3 separate regions of the Homo sapiens genome follow, and regions 2 and 3 are each linked to region 1. Evidence: promoter capture Hi-C in 16 types of primary human blood cells and fetal thymus (Javierre and others, 2016). All regions are on one chromosome and are shown on one strand. The core of a region is centred on a gene start or on the middle of the fragment in contact, and the rest is flanking DNA. Distances in the headings are between cores, read along the strand shown. Region 1 holds the start of UAP1 (UDP-N-acetylglucosamine pyrophosphorylase 1). Region 2 overlaps DUSP12 (dual specificity phosphatase 12). Region 3 overlaps NUF2 (NUF2 component of NDC80 kinetochore complex).

Region 1 (3,731 bases), core at 382-2,881:
AGTAAGCGTAGACTGATTTTGAATCTGGGTCTCCTAGTTTGAATTAATAAGTGCTCAATAATAAATAATAACTAAAGGTTATTTAGTGTTTACTGTTTTACATACTTCATTTATATCGATTGGTTTAATACAACCACCAAATGGCATTTTCATCTTTATTGTCTGTTTTTTATAGATGAGAAAACTGATAGCACAAGTAGCTTGCCAAAGATCACAAGCAATAAAGCTGAAATTGTCTTCAGATCCCATGATTAAGAAACCAATCACTACACTATAAACCAATCACTACACTATTCTTCTTTCAAAGAAACGAAGGAAGTTCTAGGATCATGAGAGATGGAGAGTATTCAATCTCCTGAATGTAAATCTACCAGCATTACTTACCAAGTTTAAGTTTTTCTGTTGTTACTTGAGGCAGTGGGTGATTATGCAATTGGTAAAGGGAATGAAAAGGCCTTTGCACCCAAGAAAGTAGAAGAAAGGCGCCTGAATCTCTTTATGATAGGTGGTATGTTAAATCTAGGTATTTTCGTATTTCAACATATTCCACTTCTTGCAAAAGCTGCAAAATGCAACACAACTTTAAATGTAAACATAGCTTCCAAGGGCACAGTGCTGAACATATAATAACCTGTGTGTGCACACCCACACTAGGTTATGTAACAGGACTGTAAACACTGGTCCTGGAATGGCCTGGGAGGTCATCTAGGTCCTCCACCATCTTTCTGCAGAGTACTGAGGCCTAGCGACGTTAAGTCTGCAAACTCACAAAGATGACCCCGGGCTTATACTACCTTAGGTTACCTACTACCTTTGCTTGCATTTCCTCTCTCCTTTCCTGTCTGTTTGTGCAAAAGAAAAAAGGCCTGGCTTCGCCTTCTTGGGAGCCAAAACACAACCAAACAGAGAGCGAGTTTGGAGCCCGGCCAGGCATCTTGTGAACTGCACACAAAATAACTAGCCCAAGGTCAGAGAGCGCGCCAGGCCCGCCCTGAAAGTTTCTCCGCAGGAAAATCCACCGCCCTTTCCCAACCACCCGCGTGGGTGGCTCGGAAATCCGCCACCCTGGGGACACAGCTCCCTGCCCATCTCTGTGGCCCGCTTGTGCCCCGTGCCGCTGGGCCGACTAAGAGCCTCGGGCTCGCACCTCCCAGTACAACCTAGGGACGTCAGGGGTCCTGGGACCCACGAGCCGCTCTCTGCCGGCCGGCTCCTGGCCCCTCCTAGCAGACCCAACCGACATCCTTCACCCTCAGTTAGTGCGCAGGAGGGACCGGGACGCCAGCCGACTGCGCTCCAGAACTATTCCCATTGGGCCAGAGAATGAGTGACGCACTAGGCCCCGCCCCGGCCCGGTGGGTTACTCCTTTCATGCCCGGCCCCCATCCCTAGCCCCGCCCCGGCGCCCCGGGCCGCGGCCGCCTCCGCGTCCGCGTCGTCGTCTGTGCTCCCGGCGCTGACGTGTCTGGGCGGTCGGCTTCCACTCCTTCAGGCGTCGGCAGCCACTAGTCGTGGCGAGAGGGGCGGGGTGGCCGGGGCTGGCGCTCCACTTGGCCCCCGCTCCCGGCCCGCCCCGCCGCCGCGGCCCCCCGGATGAGGGTATATATTCGGAGCGAGCGCGGGACGCCGATGAGTGGCCGCGCGGAAGGAGCTGGAGACGGTCGTAGCTGCGGTCGCGCCGAGAAAGGTGAGGGGCTCCCAGCCCAGCGAGGAGACGGCGGGGCTCGGGACCCGGGCGGGCGGAGGGCCTGGCCCCACCGCACACACGGCCACGCGCTCAGACGTGGACACGCGTCGCACGAACGTGCACAGCGCGGGCAGCCGAGCACACGCCGAGGAGCCTCCCGCTCGCCCGCAGACACACACCCCAGCCCGTGCGCCCCGCAGTCGCACCCCATCCTCCGCCACCCCGCGAGAGGGTGTGTGGGCTGGGCAGCCGGGTGGATGGCGGGGCCAGGGATGGAATGAGCGCGCCCCAGATGGACTGGGGGCGTTGTGGGAGGAGGTCTGGGCCAGTGTCTGAGTCCGAGGGGGTCGTGTAGGCGTGTGGGGTTGGGAGTGGGGCCTCTCCCGGGTGGGCAGTAGAGACCTCGAGGCTCTCAGGCTAGGGCCTTGTGGACAGTTATACCAAGTGTGGGGGCCTGTAGTGGGACAGGAGATCGTTGGCACTGTCAGGTGGAAGCGAGTTGGTGTGTCTTGAATATATGAGGAAAAGATTTGAGAGGTCTGACAAAGACAGGGGATACATTTGGAGGACAGGACAGTGGGACAAAACCTGTTTGCTTGCCACTTTTTTCTTTCTTTTTTTTGGTTTGGTTTGCCATGATACTGGTAGTGAGAGAGAATTGAAATTTCTGGGTTTCCCCTCTCTTGGCCAAGCAGAAGGATGGTATTGGAGGGCTGAGCACACGTATGCTGAACATATGGCTGCTTGAACTTTGGCCTGTCGCTGTGCTACACTTACTTCTACATGGTTTATGAAATCTGAAATCAGGTAATAGGATTATGATCATATGTGTGTGTCATTTGGTATTGCAAAAGTTTAAGGACTTTTAGGTGAAATTCACTGGGTGTGGATCCAAGAGTTCGCCGGAAACTCAAGGCAGTTGTCTATTCCTTCACGGTTAGTCAGTTGGCTCACTTAGCTGGAGCAAAGAAAGACTTCATAGGCTGTGCTGCCAAGCATTTATAGGATTCAGTTGGTGGTTATGTCTCAACTCTGATACTGTTTTTCAAAAGCTTTAAGAGGTTTACTTATTCATTTCGAGGGCATACGTATACCAGCAGAGATAGGGGCTGGGTGGGGGAAGCCAGAAAAGGAGGGAGAAATACTGGATTTCTTTAATACTGGTATTTAAATTCTAATAAAAATATATTTGATAATGGTAGATTATTACCAAATTTTTCATATATTTTGATGCAGATGGATTAGGCTGTGGGCATGTACCAAGTTTTGTCATAATTTCTCGAGCAGATTTTCAACTTTTTCAGATTTCGGTTGTCAAAATAAAAATCCATATCTTTTAACTCTTCTGTTAATTGCTGCTTACCATTACACGTGCCTCTAAACATCGTTAATGGGAAACATGCTACTATTTTTGTGGCATGAAGGTGCTTATATCTGCCTCAAATAAATATAATAGATGAATTGTGCTTGTCCAAAACTCAAGTATGGTCGTTACATTATGAACATTATACAACATGTAGATGAACACATGTTACCAGTGGTTTACGCCCAGATATCAAAGTTTAACCTATGAGGTACCCTTTTTTTTTTTATTTTTATTTTTTGAGACGGAGAGTCTCACTCTGTCGCCAGGCTGGAGTTCAGTGGCGTGATGTCGGCTTACTACAACCTCCGCCTCCCCGGTTCAGGCGATTCTCCTGCCTCAGCCTCCTGAGTAGCTGGGACTACAGGCGCGTGCCACCATGCCCAGCTAATTTTTGTATTTTTAGTGGAGATGGGGTTTCACCATGTTGGCCAGAATGGTCTCCATCTCTTGACCTCATGATCCGCCCGCCTCGGCCTCCCAAAGTACTGGAATTACAGGCGTGAGCCACCGCGCCCGGCCCTATGAGGTATCTTATTTGCATGGATTCATTTTCCCAAGTGTCTGAAGGTGGAGGAGTATCTAATGATCTTTTAGGAAAAGTTTGGTTTATATCTTAAAATGTTATAGTAATATGTTTGTGTATGCCTTTTATCAGACAGAGCACTCTTTACTCTTGAC
Region 2 (3,731 bases), core at 668-3,167, 800 kb before region 1:
ATATATATATATGCCACATCCATGAAACCTTCCTTAATCAAATCTCAAGCTTCACTTTTCTCCCTTCAAGCTCCCTGAATACAACATTCTTCCTATGAGATAATTGTAGTCTACTATCTATTACAGTAAATTTCCAATGCATTTTATCTCACTGATTAGATTATAAACTCAACGTGGGGATCGTGTCTTGTTTTTATATCCTATATTGATTGCCAAAGATAATGATTTGTTTTGTATAAAAGTGAATGAATAAAGTAACACATTTGCTTTATTTCAGCTTCTTTGCCCAAAATGCAGTGCCAAGTTGGGTTCCTTCAACTGGTATGGTGAACAGTGCTCTTGTGGTAGGTGGATAACACCTGCTTTTCAAATACATAAGAATAGAGTGGATGAAATGAAAATATTGCCTGTTTTGGGATCACAAACAGGAAAAATATGAACATGATATTTTATAGCTTGGGAAGAAACTTGCAGATGATATGTGCTGCCTTTGCTTCTTATCATTCATGGCAGATTGTTTGTGCTTTCAACATTTCATTTGAAATGGGAGAAGATAAAATCACTTGATGTAACCTGGAAACTATGCTTTACATGGCAATCAAAGCCTTTTGATCATGTACATTTTATTTGATATTAAAATCTTTTATAACCAGATACTGTCTGTGTTTCATATATTTTTAAAAGTTTTGATTGTTGGAATGTTATATGATCTTAAGGTCTGTATAGACAAAATTATGTACAAAAATTTGAAACTATTATATTTAAATGGGTATTCTTTTATTTCCAGACACATAAAGCAGATTTGTTTGGACATATTTTGGAATTATTTCACTTTCTTTCTTTTAAGGGACATTAGTAAACCCATACATGTCTGGATTTTTTTCTTGGAAATGGAAAGGCCATTAGTAAAACGCTGATTAAAAGGCAATTTTCCTATTACTGTTCAGTAATCCCAATTATCTATATTTTTAGAAAAGTGTTTGAGATCCCTTTTGAAGTGATCTACATAAAGAAATACATAAATGTTAGATGTGTTTCTAATGATGAAGAAAACAAATGTAGAGTTACTATATATCAAGTCATTTTGTAGCCCAATATGTGAGTATTGGAAAAGGTAATACGTCCAGATTAGTTTTTTAACCTGATGTATAGAAACTAGAATTATTTTACTCATTATTAATAATTACAATTGGACCTAATTAGATATTTGAACATTTACAAGAATCAGAATTAACTAATAAAGGCCAGGTGCAGTGGCTTATGCCTATGATCCCAGCACTTTGGGAGGCCAAGGCAGGCAGATCATTTAAGGTCAGGAGTTCAAGACCAGCCTGGCCAACATGGTGAAACCCTGTCTCTACTAAAAATAAAAAAATCAGCCAGGCATGGTGGCACACGCCTGTAGTCCCAGCTGCTTGGGAGGCTACTCCAAAAAAGAACAAGAATTAATAAAGAAAAATATTCTTTATTTTTGTTGTAAATTAAGTTGTAAATTCACTAGTCATGCTCCCCACCATTTGCAGGGTTCCAACAATAGTACACATTGAGGCTTATATACATAAACACCGTAGTGGGAGTAATTTTTAAATGCAAAAATATGTTGTGAATAATGATCCTCTTAATAAATGCCTAGCTCAGTTTTTTAAAGGTATAGGAGTGTTATGGAAAATTCTTGAGAAAAATCTTAACATTGGACCTGAAGGCTTTGGCAGTTTCCATGTAATAATTTTTCTTTCTATTTTTTTTTTTTTTTTTTGAGATGGAGTTTTGTTGTTGCCCAGGCTGGAGTGCAATGGCATGATCTCGGTTCACTGCAACCTCCACTGCCCAGGTTCAAGCGATTCTCCTGCCTCAGCCTCCCAAGTAGCCACCACATCTCGCTAATTTTGCATTTTTAGTAGAGATGGGGTTTCCATATGTTGGCCAGGCTGGTCTCAAACTCCTGACCTCAAGTGATCCACCCACTTCGGCCTCCCAAAGTGCTGGGACTACAGGCGTGAGCCACCGCTCTCTGCCATAATTTTTTCTTTTGAGAAAAAATTACTCCATTTGTTTTAGCTTTCATAAAATCTACTTTTTTGCTTCATACTATTATTCTCTATTCATATATTATTCTCTAGAAAGTTTTAACAAACAGGTTGAGGAGCTCAGGTGTGGTGGCTCATGCCTGTCCCAGCACTTTGGAAGACAAAGGAGGGTGGATCATTTGAGGCCAGGAGTTCAAGACCAGCCTGGCCAATATGTGAAAACCCCGTCTCTATTTAAAAAATAATAACAGTTTGCGGCACATGAAGTTACCCCTTTTGTAGGTAAAAAGTAGTTACATAGCTGCAGTTTAATATGACTCAATGCCTATCCATCATACACTGTTGATCAGATTATAAAATCAAATAGTATGGATCAAATGCAATGTTAATTAAGTTGTAAATTCACTAGTCATGCTCCCCACCATTTGCAGGGTTCCAACAATAGTACACATCGAGGCCTATATACTATTTGTCTTAACTTTGTTTTTGTTTTTGTTTTTGTTTTTTTTGAGACGGAATCTTGCTCTGTCGCCCAGGCTGGAGTGCAGTGGCGCAATCTCGACTCACTGCAAGCTCCGCCTCCCGGGTTCACGCCATTCTCCTGCCTCTGCCTCCTGAGTAGCTGGGACTACAGGCGCCTGCCACCACGCCCGGCTAATTTTTTTGTATTTTTTAGTAGAGACGGGGTTTCACCGTGGTCTCGATCTCCTGACCTCGTGATCCGCCCGCCTCGGCCTCCCAAAGTGCTGGGATTACAGGCATGAGTGTCTTAACTTTTAAAACATAAATTGGCCGGGTGCAGTGGCTCACGCTTGTAATCCCAGCACTTTGGGAGGCCAAGGGGGGTGGATCACTGCAGGTCAGGAGTTTGAGACCAGCCTGGCCAACATAGGGAAACCCCATCTCTACTAAAAATATAAAATTAGCCAGGCATGGTGGTGGGCCCCTGTAATCCCAGCTACTTGGGAGGCGGGGAGGCAGGAGAATTGCTTGAACCTGGGAGGCGGAGTTTGCAGTGAGCCGAGATCGCGCCACTGCACTCCAGCCTGGGCGACAGAGCAAGACTCTGTCTTAAAAAAATAAAATTATAAATCAAGCTATCTGTTAAATAAAATGTTTTATTCTATTATCTTGACAAATATCCCTTCATAATGACCTGTCAGACCAGGTTTGAATTCAGAATTCTCTGATTTTATCAGATTCCATGACAAAGCATGGCAATGCAGGGAGAGGTGGCCCCCGCCCACTGGGTGCCTCCTTTATTTCCCCACCCCTTGATTTGTTCTGCATCATGAAGAGCCTGGTGCATATATATATATGTGGGTCCCCCACCTATATGTATAAGATCTGGCTACAGCCCTGGTGTATACCATTAGCCCATTTCACTCGTAAGAGGTATGAGGCCAGAGCAAGCCCTGGAAGCCGGCTTGGAGCTATTTGGGCTATTTGGGTGTTAGATGCACTTCTAGAAGGGGGCATCTGTTCTAGCTGGGCACATCACGTTGGCAGTATGGATTCTTATCCTGTGGGGCAGAGCCAGAGGTCAGAGTAAAGTCTTCTAAAGTGTCGGTCCAGGGTAGGGGCTCCTCTTACCTAGACCAAAGAGTGGTATTGTCTCTAGACATAAGGTTCTTTTTCAAATTGTATTTCTATTCCAAGGGTTTAAGTTGAAAATGAATGAGTAGATTCAAGAAAAAGAATTCC
Region 3 (3,731 bases), core at 504-3,003, 770 kb after region 1:
TGTTCTCTTTTCAGGAAGAACTCCCAAATTAGAGTAGAAGATATGCAGTAAGATTGAAACAATTGAAATGAGGCAACTGAGCTTTTAGCAAATTATTTGCATAATACCTGATATTTAGTAAATGCTAACCTTATTCCATTTTTAAAATTCATTTAAAAATCTTTATTAAGCACCTACTGTGAACCTAGCATTAATAATGATGAAAACTCTGCATTTATACTAGGATATGTATTAAGGTTTTTAATTTAATGATAGTGAGTTAATATATTTTGATCTTGGTTGAAGATTTTTCTCATTTTGTCTAATCAATGTGTAATGTCGATTTTGTGGTTTATTGCATTTAGATGCCAGTGAACTCTGAAGTCATGTATCCACATTTAATGGAAGGCTTCTTACCATTCAGCAATTTAGTTACTCATCTGTGAGTAAAGAGTGATTTTATTGTCTTCGTCTACATTCGTATTTATATTACATTAAGTTTTCTTAATGACATGGTTTTCTTTGGTAAGGAATACCTACTATGTTCCTTTTCATTTCATCCCATATACATTCATTCAAACTTTCAAAATTGTAGACTGTCATCAAACAGAACTGCCTCCAACTGTGCCACTTTCTCAGCATATTTTCAATTGAACTTCTAAGATACTGTAAGTCGAAAATTGTTTACCGTCTTTGTGAAGAGGTTTGAGTTCTTAAAAGAGTCTTAGTGTCACCAAGTTTATGTACTATTTATTAGAATCTGTAACTATACTTTAGTATTGCATGACTACATGATTAATATACAGAAAAAATAGATTTCAGTGCTATAGGGTTATACATTATAGTAGAATTCTGGCTTCGTCCACTGACCTTAAGAAATATATCCAGAAATCTCTTTCTGAAAATAAGATGTTTATATCCTATAGCTTAGCATTTAATGTGCAAAATACTTTTCAATAGTCTTTTTGTACTTCATCTTCAAGGGACTCATTTTTGCCTATCTGCCGGGTGAATGACTTTGAGACTGCTGATATTCTATGTCCAAGTAAGTGAGAATTTAAAACAGTTTTAATGTCTGGCTTCGATCTACCATTTCACCTTTCCATCAGTAAATGTAAAAAAAAAAAAAAAGGAAAAAAACAACTTCAAGGAAATTGCCTTTAAAAAGTATATCCCATTTTTAAGTATGAATTTTTAATATCTTGTTGAATTTCTTTTTTTCCTTTTGAGAGCCACAGAAAAGCTGTTTTTCTGATGTTTTTTTAAAACTCCTTCCATTTAAAAAGTGTTCTATAAATTTGGGAATATGACTACAAATAATATGTAAGTATGATTTTGCATAGTGGATTCATCATACCAATTTTATCAAATGTAAGAATTACTATTTACCATATAGAAATTATCTTTTATCATTAAAAGAATAGTCATAATGTTATATTAGAATGTAAAATTCTAGCTTTAATTGTCCTTAAATTCGACTTTGATATTTATCCATCAAGTTACTGTAAGTTAAGAGATTTGGTGTGTGTATTAGGCTATTCTTGTATTGCTATAAAGAAATACCTGAGACTGGGTAATTTATAAAGAAAAGGGATTTAATTGGCTCACAGTTGTGCAGGTTATACAGGAAGCATGATGCTGGCATTTGCTTGCTTTTGGGGAGGCCTCTGGAAGCTTAGTCATGACAGAAGGCAAATGGGGAGCAGACATGTCACATAGCCAGAGGGAGCAAAAGCACAATGGGGAAGGTGCCACACACTTTTAAGTGACCAGATCTTGTGAGAACTCACTCACTGTAGACAGGACAGCATCAACCATACTCTTAACTTTACAATCCAGCAATCATGCTCCTTGGTATTTAGCCAAATGAATCGAAAGCTTATATTCACACAAAAACTTAAACACAGATGTTTAGAGCAACTTTATTCATAATTACCAGAATTTGAAAGTAGCCTTGGTGAATGAATAAACTGTAGTACATCTAGAGAATAGAAGTTATTCAACACTACAAGGAAATTAGCTAGCAAGCTATGAGAAGACATAGAGGAATATTAAATGCATATTATTAAGTGAAAGAAGCCAGTCTGCAAAGCCTACACAGCTATATATCATTCTGGAAAGGGCAATATTGTGGAGACAGTGAAAAGATCAGTGGAAACCACTGGTTAGGGGTGAGGGAGGGATGAATAGGATCCCTTTAGCACTAAGGATTTTTAGGGCAGTAACAATACTCTGTATGCTACTCTAATGGTAGATACTTGTCATTATGCATGTGTTGAAACTCAGAATGTACAGTACCAGGAGTGAACTCTAATGTAAACTGAATTTGGGATGATAATGATGTGTCAGTGCAAGTTCATCAGTTGTAACAAATATACCACTCAGGTGAAGGAAGTTGGTGGAGAGGAGTTTGTACATGTGTGGGGACCCAAGGTATATGGGAACTATCTACTTCCTGTTTAGATTTACTTTGAACTTAAAACTCCTTTCAAAAAGGAAGTCTATTAAAAATTAATTGACTGTATATTTGTCTATTTTTGAGCTCGCTATTCTACTCCATTGATCTGTATGTCTATCTTTATGTCAAGCAGTACTTTGATTATTTAGCTTTACAGTAAATTTTGAAATCAGTGTTACTCCTCTTTCTTCATCTTTGTCAAGATTATTTTGGCTATTCTGGTCCTTTGCATCTCTATATGTATTTTAGTATTTCCAGCTTGTCACTTTCTACCCTTCTTCCCCTGAAAAAGCCATTTTGATTGAGATTACTTTTAATGTATTGTTCATTTGGGGGATATTTGACAATTTAATAATATTGGGTCTTCTGATCCATATGCATGCTATATCTCTGCATTTATTAAGGCTGTTAAATTTCTCATAATGATGTACTATAAATTTCAGAGTGCAGACCTTGTATAATAAATTTTGTTAAATTTATGCCTAAATCAAATTTTTAGTGGTTCTGTAAATTTAATTTAAATTTTCTGATTAGTCATTGTTAGTGTAGACAAGTACAATTGATTTTTATATATTGACTTTGCTAAAATCACTTATTATTTGAGTAGATTTTTTTTTTTGTAGATTCCTTAGGATTTTCCTTATTGACAATTCTCAATTTTTGTTTGAGGACAAAATTTTTTTCTAATAGAGATGCCTTTTATTCTTTTTTTTTTTTTTTTACGTTTCTGCACTGGCTGGGACTTTTAGTATAATGTCGAATTGAAATGATGAGAGCAGTCATCATTACCTTGTTTCTGATCTTGGGGGAAACCATTTAGTCTTTCATTATTAAGTATTCGTTGTAGGATTTTTCTTAGATGTTTTTTATCAGAATGTACAACTTTTACTTTATTTCACTGAGAGTTTTTATCATGAAGGGTATTAAATGCCTTTTCGGCCTCTAGTGAGATAATCATGGGTTTTCTCTTTTTTAATCTACCAAATTACATTACTTGATTTTTGAATATCAAGCCAACCTTGCATTCAGGATGTGTCCTGATTGGTTATGATATATTTTTAATATATTGCTAGATTTGATTTGCTAATATTTTATTAAGTTTTTTTGTCTGTGTTCATGATGGATATTGTTCTGTAGTTTTTTTGCAATGTCACTGCAGTGACTGATCTGAATATCAGGATATACCAGTCTCATACAATACATTTGGAAAGATTCCCGCTTCCATTTTTGGGAATTGTTTTATAAAATTTGTATTATTTATTTCTTTTTTGAATATTTGGTAGAATTTACCAGT

Evidence for each region. The method cuts DNA at HindIII sites, captures the fragments that hold promoters and counts their contacts. A CHiCAGO score of 5 or more calls a contact.
Region 2: a fragment that was not itself captured here is called in contact with the fragment with the promoter of UAP1 in region 1 in 1 of 17 cell types (non-activated CD4 T cells); the score reaches 6.0 in non-activated CD4 T cells.
Region 3: a fragment that was not itself captured here is called in contact with the fragment with the promoter of UAP1 in region 1 in 1 of 17 cell types (fetal thymus); the score reaches 7.7 in fetal thymus.

Annotation. Positions count from the first base shown.
Region 1 is chr1:162,560,091-162,563,821 of GRCh38, forward strand. UAP1 (UDP-N-acetylglucosamine pyrophosphorylase 1) reads left to right here and starts at 1,632. Exons shown (of 11, transcript NM_001324116.5): 1 at 1,632-1,687. It overlaps UAP1-DT (UAP1 divergent transcript), which reads right to left and starts at 1,263. Exons shown (of 3, transcript XR_426859.4): 1 at 1,148-1,263; 2 at 385-562. RefSeq lists a silencer at 1,221-2,120. The HindIII fragment of the contact is 14,107 bases long and covers 1-2,737 here.
Region 2 is chr1:161,756,509-161,760,239 of GRCh38, forward strand. DUSP12 (dual specificity phosphatase 12) reads left to right here. Exons shown (of 6, transcript NM_007240.3): 6 at 278-730. The coding sequence ends at 439. Among named protein-coding and RNA genes, the nearest start is that of ATF6-DT, 7.8 kb to the right of the region's middle. The HindIII fragment of the contact is 3,741 bases long and covers 48-3,731 here.
Region 3 is chr1:163,327,884-163,331,614 of GRCh38, forward strand. It overlaps NUF2 (NUF2 component of NDC80 kinetochore complex), which reads left to right. Exons shown (of 14, transcript NM_145697.3): 4 at 345-421; 5 at 963-1,024. Among named protein-coding and RNA genes, the nearest start is that of NUF2, 7.8 kb to the left of the region's middle. The HindIII fragment of the contact is 204 bases long and covers 1,652-1,855 here.